Linked DNA regions of Homo sapiens: all the other regions are linked to region 1. Evidence: promoter capture Hi-C in human tissues and cell types (Jung and others, 2019). All regions are on one chromosome and are shown on one strand. Each heading gives the region's core, a stretch centred on a gene start or on the middle of the fragment in contact. The rest is flanking DNA. Distances are from core to core; before and after follow the strand shown.

Region 1 (3,110 bases), core at 1-2,500:
GGCTGCTGTGTCAAGGATGGATTATAGGGGTGTGTATGGCAAAAGAGTAGAATCTGGAAGAACTGTCTGTGTTCCCATTGAAAGAGGATGGTGCCTTCGACCAGGATAAATATAGTGAAGATATAGAAAGAGAAGGAGGTTCCAGAAATACTTCAGGAGTAGAGTTGATTGGATTTGATGGGTTAATATGGGGAATGAGGAAAAGAGGGGAACCAGAGGTGATTTCAAGTGTCTTACCTTGAGCAAATTGGTGGATGGTGGTGTCATTTACTGAAACGGAAAATACAGGATGAGCAGATTAAAGGTGAACATGCAATGAATGAAATTTTCAATTTTGTGTATGTTGGTCTGAGATGCCTTTTGGATACATGTTGTATACATGCTTACATGAGTAAGCAACTGGTATGAATTGACGGAGAGGGAGGAAGGACAGGGCAGAAGATAGAGCTGTGGGAGTCATCGGTTCCTTGACAGAATTTACAGCGTGGTAATGGATAGACTCTATGCTATCCATCTATGGAACAACACATCTGGAGAAGAGAGAAGAGCTGGGGAGGCTGGACTGTAGCCTTGGGAGTGGCTATTAAAATAGGAGAAGGGGTGGAGCGGAAGGGAGAGAGGAACTATGGAGTGCTTAGCAAGAGAAGAAAGTGTTTTAAGGATGGGGATGATAAACTGCATTGAAAGCCACTGAGAGGTGGAGAAAAAATCAGGGCAGAGAAGTAATAAAAGGCATCAGCAACATGGAAGTCACTGGTGACTCGCGAAAGGCGATCACCTTTGGTGTGTAGGGCACAAAAGCCTGGGGGGGTAAAGAGAGAGTGGAAAGTAAGAATGTCGAGACAGTCGACTATTATTGCCATTTTATGAATGAAGAAACCGAGGCTCAATATTTGACTGTCTCATTCAAGGTGAAAGCCAGTGGGGTCAGATCCTGGACCTAGAATCCATGCAATGATTTGTGCACATCGCCTATTGAAGAGAGAGATCCAATTCTCTTCCAAAACGTAAAAGCCAACACTTCCCTCAAAGGAGGCTTCGAGTTAAATCATCCTTTCACGATGCCGCTTCCATTTTAAAGAAAAAAAAAAAAAAACGAGAAGGCCTGGTGCGGGATAGGAATGAGCCGAGGAGCTACTGGCCCTCTCGGTCGGGGGAAGACCCGCCCCTTTTCCGCAGCCCGAGCCCGGCGCAGTCCACTGCGGCTGCGCGAGCCTGGCGCGCGCGGGGCGGGAACGCGGAAGGGGCTGGGGTTGCGGCGCGGCGGCGAGGACCAGACCGGGGGCGGGGCCGGTAGTGGGAGTGCGGGGCGCGCGGTGACAGCGCGGGGTTGGCGGCGTGGGACCCAGGGGGCGACAGAGGCAGCAGCAGCCCGAGGCCTGAGGAGAGGAGACCGGCGGCGGCGGCAATGCTGGAGACCCTTCGCGAGCGGCTGCTGAGCGTGCAGCAGGATTTCACCTCCGGGTGGGTATACGGTGGGCGACGAAAAGGGACCTGAGGGGGCCGGGCCGCCGCCTGGGATGCCCCTGCCTCGCTCCCTTCCCCGCGCCACGGTCCAGGGTCCGTCCTGTCCCGCACCTCCCCGCCCCGCCCCGCCGAGGAAAGTAACGAACTTCCCGGCGTCCTCGCGTCGGGCGGCGCAAAGTAACTTAGGTCCCTGCGGGCCGCCTGTGACGCGCACCCCCCAGGACCGGGAGGCGCTCGGCGGCGCAGCGGAGCGCCCGGGGGGGGTGTGGGACCCTGCGGTCCTTTCCCGGCAGCATCAGCTGGGCCCTGGAGGGAAGTCATGTGAGAAGCCAGCGCGCCTCACCGCTTCCGCCCCCGCGGCACAGTGGCCTGCGCCCCTCGGCCCAGCAGACACCTGCTCGTGCGCACCTGGAGCTGGGCCAGCCACCCTCCCCGAGTCGGATCGCACCGCGCAGCAGCCTGCACCCTCCGGCCACAGCCTTCCGCGCCGCGTCTCGGCTTTCACGCCCGGCTCGCCGGCCTAACCCTTGGCAAGGCTGGCCGCCCCTCCCCGTTGCGTCCTTTCTCTACCTTTGCCGTGAGCTCAGCGCCTCGGCGAAGGAACTCCTAAGCAGGAGAAGCGACAGAACTTTAGGAATGCTTTTAATACCCAGCGGTTCCCAAACTTTGCTTAGAATCACCTGGGAACCTTTCAGAGTTCTGATGCCCAGGTCTCACCCCCTACCTGTTGACCAGAGTGCCTGGAGACGGCGTTTTAAAGATCCCCAGGGGATTCCAGTGGGCACCAACGCCTGGGAACCACAGGCCGAGACTCTGGCGCCAGATTGCCTAGGCATCCTGGCTCGACCACTAAATCAAACGTAGTTACTCAGCTGCCTTGCCTCAATGTACTGTTTCCGCTACCGTAAAATGGGGATAATGATGGTACTTAAAAGGTTATTACAAGGATTAATGAATTAATGTGTAAAACACGAAGCAAGCATCATGTCAGTATTGTTACTTAGTGCTTAATTTTAATTTTTTCATTCCTTTAAAGTGAAAAAGATCTGTCTTTGAAAAGGATCTTTCAACTTTAGCTTACAAATCCTGTTGGAGGATGCACTGAATGTGAGAACATTTCCACTCATACTGTTTTAAATTTCTCCCCCCCACCCCCCTTTTTTTTGAGATGGAGTCTTGCTCTGTCACCCAGACTGGAGTGCAGTGGCGTGATCTCGGCTCACTGCAACCGCCGCCTCCCGGATTCAAGCGATTCTCCTGGCTCCACCTCCTGAGTAGCTGGGACTAGAGGCGCCCGGCTTATTTTTGTATTTTTTAGTAGAGACGGGTTTCACCATATTGGCCAGGCTGGTCTCGAACTCCTGACCTTGTGATCCTCCCGCCTTGGCCTCCCAAAGTGCTGGGATTACAGGCGTGTGCCACCGTTCCCGGCCCACCCTCCCCCCCTTTTTTTTAAAGTGACAAGTTCTCGCTCTGTTGCCCAGGCTGGAGCGCAGTGGCGCTATTATAGCTCGCTGCAGCCTCCAACTCCTGGGTACAAGAGATCCTCCCTCCTAGGCTTCCTGAAGTGGTGGGATTATGGGTATTAGTCACTGCGCCCAGCCTCGTTTTAAATTTCTAATGAGAAAGATGTTAGCCAAAAT
Region 2 (3,350 bases), core at 271-2,770, 1.5 Mb after region 1:
GGAAGAAGAACCCAAGAGGTTTCATACTTGTGTGTGCAAACAAATGCATATTTTAAAACTGCTATATATATAGAATTTCTCCCCTAATGTGGCAATTTTTATCTTTCTTTAAAACTATTCTTTCAGATGTTAAGAAACTACAGCAAATTCTGTGGTTCCAGAAAGCCTTCTCAAATTCTCCACCATCTCCATTTTTTTGTTTGTTTGTTTTTTTGTTTTTTTGTGTTTTTTTTTTTTGAGACAGAGTCTCACTCTGTCGCCCAGGCTGGAGTGCAGTGGCGCGATCTCGGCTCACTGTAAGCTCCACCTCCCAGGTTCATGCCATTCTCCTGCCTCAGCCTCCTGAGTAGCTGGGACTACAGGTGCCCGCCACCACGCCCAGCTAATCTTTTTGTATTTTTAGTAGAGACAGGGTTTCACCATGTTAGCCAGGATGGTCTCGATCTCCTGACCTTGCGATCTGCCCATCTTGGTCTCCCAAAGTGCTGGCGTGAGCCACCGCGCCCGGCCTACCTTCATTTTAACACGAGACTGTGCTTCTTGTGTTAACAGGTCTTTCTTTCTAACAAACTCATTTCTTATTAAATTATGTTCTTTCATCCTTCCTTATGATGCTAGAATTAGACAATCTTATCTGTGTTTAGTTACAGGAGACACAAAGTATTCTGGAATACCAAGACAGTGTTTTCAGCCACGGTGCAACAATGCCAAGGGCATGTGAAGCTTCTACAGATAAGGCATCAAATGCAGAAAGCATCAGAAGCCAGCTTTGAAGGGCACAAGGTATGGCTCATGACATTTCAATGCCATGAAATAGGGCAGCCAGTGTTTGCAAAGCAAGCCAGGTGAGTTGGTGGCATAAGGAAAATGACTTCAGAGCTGGAACCTCTCCTGGTGTGGAGAAAACAGCTGGCTGACCTTCCCCCCAGAAACTCCTCCAAGTAGCTGAACAACACAGACTGCCCGTGAAGGCTGCATTTGGCAGTAAGGGCAGTCAGCAGTCATGGCTGGGGCAACCAGAAGGATTCCAAAAAGGAGCAAATAGAGAATTTGGCAAGGATGGAAAGTGGAAGGACAGCAAACAGGTGGGGATAACTCCTTAAAGGATGAAGCTAGGTTTATTTTATATGAAAGATGAAGTGTGAAATCCTGGGCAGGCATCTTCCATGAAATGACTTAGGGTAAGCCAGAGAAAAAATGAGGGAAGAAGACAGCCCTGATGATAACTAAAGCCTCTCTCTACCTTGGTTGCTAATGTTTTTACCCTGGGGTCAGGAACAGGGTGGTTATGATGGTGTAGAATATGGTCTTTTCTCCAGTGTTTGGGCCACTCTGGCCCCCTTGCTGTCCATCATCACTATGCCCAGAGATGGGCATGGGAAAATGAGAAGCTACATGGAGGGTTGCTCAGTGGCTTTTTACTAAGCAGGGCCTTGTACAGAGAAAATTGAAGCTTCTGTGCTGGCAGAGATGAGTGTAACCCTTGCTCCCTCCTTTGAGTGATTCACACTCAAATCTCATGCCAAGCCTGTGGTTTCACAGTAACAATGATTTTAGACTCCAGGATCCCTTTATAGACCAGCCACCAGAATTCCTTTTCTCCAAGCTCCACTGCCTTTTCTTTCTGGGCACTAGCTAGCTCACCCACTCATAGTAAAAACCTCCGAAGTTTTTCACCCACTTTCGTCATGACCTCTGAGACACCTCTACTCTCCCTTATTGCCTCACCTCTCTTACTTCCCATCCTTCCTTGAAATTTTGCTTTATTCTTTGGATCGAGACATGAGGTTGCTTCTTCAGAAGCTCCAGAGGCCCCTTTATGAAGTCCTCCCCACTAGTTTCTTCTCTGTATAGTCTATAAGCATATATGGATCACCTAGTCTTTAGCCAGGGGCCAGGCCCTGGTTTCTCCCTTGTGTCATGAATCTCAGTTCATTCGTATGCAGAAAGTCTAATGCCAACAGCCTAAAGTGGAGGTCAAGCCCCTGTAACTCCAACAGAGGCAAGAAAGTCACGAAGGTGGGGTTACCAGTGGTATCAGTCGGTTACAGCTGCCATAACAAAACACCATATACTGAATGGCTTAAAACAGTGAAGCTCATTTCCTCACAGTTCTGGAGGCTGGAAATCCAAGATCAAAGTGTCAATAGGTTTGGTTTCTCCTGATGCCTCTCTCCTTGGCTTGCAAATGACCCCCTTCTCCCTGACCTCACATGACCTTTTTTATGTGTGTGCACATCCTTGGGTCTCTTCCTCTTCTTATAAGGACACCACTGCTATTGGATTAGGACCCAGCCTTATGACCTCATTTAATTTTAATTACCTCTTTAAAGGCTTTATCTGCAAATACAGCCACATTGGGAATTAGGACTTCAACCTATGAATTTTGGGGAGAATAATTCAGTACGTCACACCAGTGAAGAAGCTTTTGTCTGCAAGTAGCAGAAACTTGACTCTCGTGTTCAGGTGTCCAGAGGAAGAGAGTATCCACTGTTAGTTCAGGGACCCCACAGGTTTATCAAGAACCAGACTCAAAAGAGACCACTGAAAGCATGTTCAGTTATGTGTATAGATCCAAAGACAATGATTCTCAAGTCTAGAAATTGTTTTAAGATTTTGTACATCTATTCTGCACCTGTCACTTATTTGTGAGAACCACCAGCAAAACATTAAACCAGGCTATATTATTGCAGGATACGCAAGGGTGTTTTCACTTTATCATCACTGGAAATGACACTGACATCACTTTCTTAGTTCATTTATTCAGAACACAGTTAATAAACGGGTCCCCTGCATTTTCAAGGCCTTGAGTTAGGGGCTTTCAAGGCCATTGGTATGAATCAGAAATTAGAGTGCCTCCACCTTGTTTTGTGAATTTCAGAGCAAGATTTAGCCACTTATGCCCACAGTGAGAAGAGAATTCTGAAAATTCAGATGTTCAAGAAAATACATGTAAGCAATAAATAAATAAACAAATAAATAAATAAACTGTGACACTCCTTAGAATCAGGCAACAATCAACTGCACAATTACTTATAGTGAAGATTCACACTTCAGGGGACACCAGAAAAAGTAGTTTCTGGCCAGGCATGGTGTCTCACTCCTGTAATCCCAGCACTTTGGGAGGCTGAGGAGGGTGGATCATGAGGTCAAGAGATCGAGACCTTCCTGGCCAACATGGTGAAACCCCATCTCTACTAAAAATATAAAAATTAGCTGGGCATGGTGGCTCCTGCCTGTAGTCCCAACTACTCGGGAGGCTGAGGCAGGAGAATCGCTTGAACCTGGGAGGTGAGCAAAGATCGTGCCACTGCACTCCAGCCTGGTGACAGAGTGAGACTCCGTCTCAA
Region 3 (3,454 bases), core at 727-3,226, 1.7 Mb after region 1:
CAATCAAGACAAGGTTCCTGAAAGCAGAGGCTGATTGTAAAGGCAAATGGATCCTTTTCTGTCTTCACCTTGTCTCACCTGTCCTTCACCTTCTTCCCAATGACTATACCCTTACTCTTGAAACTATCTATTCTCACAGGTTCCATGACATCACAGTCTTCCAGCTTTCCTCCTAGTTCACTGATCACTATTCTCAATCTTTTCTGCCAGCTCCTCTTCTATCAAATCTCTAGATGTTAGAACTCCCTAGCCCTTGCTTGCACTCTTTCCCTTGGATTGTTCCATCTCCTCCAGTAGCTTTGAATATCATGACATGATGACTGCCCCCCAGTTTGTGTCTGCAGCCTATCCCTTCCCTCTGAGTTCCAGAGGGCTTACAGTACCTCCATTTGTATTAACACAAACACTTCAAATTTAACAGGTCTAAGACAAATTTCAACCCTCACCTCTCACTACCACCAAATTGTTTCCTGCAGTTTTCCCCATTTTAATAAATGGCACCACCATTCTCTCAGTTTTTCAAAAACTAGGAGTCACCTTTGATTCTACATTATACCTCACTCCTCATGTCCAATCCATTGGCAAGCCAGTCAATTCAACCAAAGTATGTTTCCAATCTTCCAATTTCATTCCATCTTCATCATCAACATCCTAATCCAGGTTTTGACCTTGTTCATTGCAGAACCTTCTAATTTATCTTCATGCTTCTAATCTTGCCCCACTATAAATTATTTTCATTGCAATAACCAAAGTAAGCTTCTAAAAATGTAAATGGGATTATATCTACCATCCGTTTATTACACTTAAATCATTTTTCATTACATAGAGATTAAAATCCAAACTCTACACAGCAAGGTACCGTATAATCTGGCCTCTGCCTTCCCTCCAACCCTGTCTTGAACTTATTGTTTTCCTGCCGCCCTGGCCTTTGTTAAGTTCCATGAACAGTACAAAGTCTTTCATGTTTTAGGCTGTTTGCTCAATGTGAAATGTCATACTAATCTCATTCCTTCTTAGAGATCTTGCCTTAGTCTGTTTTGTGTTGCTATAAAGGAATACCTTGACGCTGGGTAAATTATAAAGAAAAGAGGTTTATTTGATTCAGAATTCTGGCTGGCTGGCAAGTTCAGGACTGGACATCTGCATATGAAGAGGATCTCAGGCTGCTTCTATCCATGGGAAGAAATGAAAGGGAGCCGATATCTGCAGAGATCACATGGCAAGATAGGAAGCAAGAGACAGGGGAGGTGCCAGGCTCTTTTTAACAATGAGCTCTCAAGGGAACTAACAAGAATAAGAATTCATTCACCCCCAAAGAAGAGCATTAATCTATTCATGAGAGATCTAGTCAAATTTCAACATGAGGTCTAGAAGTAACAAATATCCAAAACCACAGCAGATCTCAATATGAAGTCCTCAAGGAGGTCCTCTCCAATTACTCGTTTTCAAAATCCCTTACCCCTTATTTTCTATTATGGCACTCTGTTTACTTCCTTCAACAAACTTCAAGAAGCCCAATTTAACTTATTTGTTTGTTCTAAATTTCTACTACTAAAATGTAAATTATAAGAATATAAGAACCACTAATATGTTGCTTACCATTCTAGCACAAGCACCTATCATAAGCTAGCACAGAGTAGATAATAAATACCTGCCATATAAATATATTGAAATGTCTCCAAGACTCCTCCCACCTCTTCCTATCCATGAATGGTATACCACACCCTTCTGAGTGTGGTGAAGTCAGCACTTTGTCTTGATAAATATTCTTGAATGCTACACATTTTATAATGTAGACTTTCAGATTATAGATTTTATTATTATTATTATTATTTTGAGATGGAGTCTTGCTCTGTTGCCAGGCTGGAGTGCAGTGGTGCAATCTCGGCTCACTGCAACCTCCCTCTCCCGGGTTCAGGCGATTCTCCTGCTTCAGCCTCCCAAGTAGCTAGGACTACAGGCGCACACCACCACACCCAGCTAACTTTTGTATTTTTAATAGAGACGGGGTTTCACCATGTTGGACAGGATGGTCTCTATCTCTTGACCTCGTGATCTGCCTGCCTCGGCCTCCCAACAGATTATAAATTTAACATTCTAAAATGTCCATAAAAATATCAAATCAGATGAACTTCCCAAGAAATCTATAAACATTAAAAAAAACATAAAAGACTTATAAGTCATAGCATCTAGGAAGCTCTCAATACATGTTGAAAAAATAAAAGAATTCCATTCTTTGTCTTCATCATTTAAAATCTCCAATTGATAAATATTTGTCCACAATCAGCTTCAGGTTTAGGCTCACCAAAAGTATCTATTAATACAATTCAGAGAATAAAATTCTCATAGGATTGTTTCTCTGTAAATGTCCAGATGTCAACCTGAAGAAGTATACTTTGTCCTTAAGGCTTTTAAATTTTCCACAAATGTTTCTTTACATACTAGCAAAATAGTTATCACTACAATATCTCAGTATTCACAGTGTTCTAAAAATTACAAATACAGTTAAAGCCACAAAGGTATTATTTTTATAATATTATCCTAAAATAAAAACAAAGTCACAAACCAAAACGTTTTGCTCACTTTCCATAATTCTAAAGAATACACCATCTCTTCTCCAGCATTAATAAAAATGGCTACAACATCTCATGAGATGAAGCAGATTTCTGTTCACCAAGGTCCAACCGTACTCGGACTCAGCAAAAATGTCACCAATCCAATTAATGAAATGCCTCAATTAATAATGGGCAAAAAGGTTTTAAAAGGAAATTTAAAAACTTTCTATATTCTACCACATTTAATACATGACTTAATCCAAGCTTGACAAGAAGAAAAAGAACTATAGATTAAATTTTATTGAATTTATTTGCCCTCAGTGGCTTTTCTCAATAGGCCTTTTAGAATCAATCTTAATGAATGTGTCACTTTGCAACACAGCCACATAATGTGGCATTGTTGATTGACATATATTCAACTGTGAAGATTAGGATAAAGTAAAAGCCTGCAGTGTTTTTTAAATGAGACAAAATGATACTTACATAAAAAGAAGATTGCTAGGAAAGATAGTTTTATATTTATTGTATATTAAGTAGTTTTGCCGTGTGACAGACATTCTAAATACTCTATCCCAAAAGGCACCTATGCAAGATGGAGTCACTCTAGTTTGAATACCTCTGACAGATTCCTTGGTGTGGAAACTGTGTGGCATTTCATTCCATTCGGTCACACAGTGGACAGGTGATTTACTAGTGAAGATGTAGAACAAAGGGATTAGTACTGCCCTGGGTGTGTGTGTATGGTGGGGGGCGGGGGGTGGTGCTTGTTACTGACTATAGAGCAGGAAGAAAGTAGAGCATGGCTTCCTTTCATATCAGCCCAGGAAATGATGAATTTGGGGAAGCTTTTAAATTATAAATACATTCTTCCTATATTTGTGGTTGAGAGAAAAAGAGCT

The links. The method cuts DNA at HindIII sites, captures the fragments that hold promoters and counts their contacts. A contact is called where the count stands out against the background at its distance.
Region 2: a fragment that was not itself captured here is called in contact with the fragment with the promoter of DTNBP1 in region 1 in 1 of the 25 tissues and cell types used here (dorsolateral prefrontal cortex).
Region 3: a fragment that was not itself captured here is called in contact with the fragment with the promoter of DTNBP1 in region 1 in 1 of the 25 tissues and cell types used here (dorsolateral prefrontal cortex).

Annotation. Positions count from the first base shown.
Region 1 is chr6:15,661,168-15,664,277 of GRCh38, reverse strand. It overlaps DTNBP1 (dystrobrevin binding protein 1), which reads left to right and starts at 1,250. Exons shown (of 10, transcript NM_032122.5): 1 at 1,250-1,464. The coding sequence starts at 1,409. RefSeq lists a silencer at 1,254-1,763 and an enhancer at 1,994-2,043. The HindIII fragment of the contact is 6,257 bases long and covers 1-3,110 here.
Region 2 is chr6:14,163,475-14,166,824 of GRCh38, reverse strand. No RefSeq gene overlaps it. Among named protein-coding and RNA genes, the nearest start is that of CD83, 47 kb to the right of the region's middle. The HindIII fragment of the contact is 4,942 bases long and covers 1-3,350 here.
Region 3 is chr6:13,956,767-13,960,220 of GRCh38, reverse strand. The region is part of intron 1 of RNF182 (ring finger protein 182); the gene reads right to left. Among named protein-coding and RNA genes, the nearest start is that of RNF182, 34 kb to the right of the region's middle. The HindIII fragment of the contact is 5,227 bases long and covers 1-3,454 here.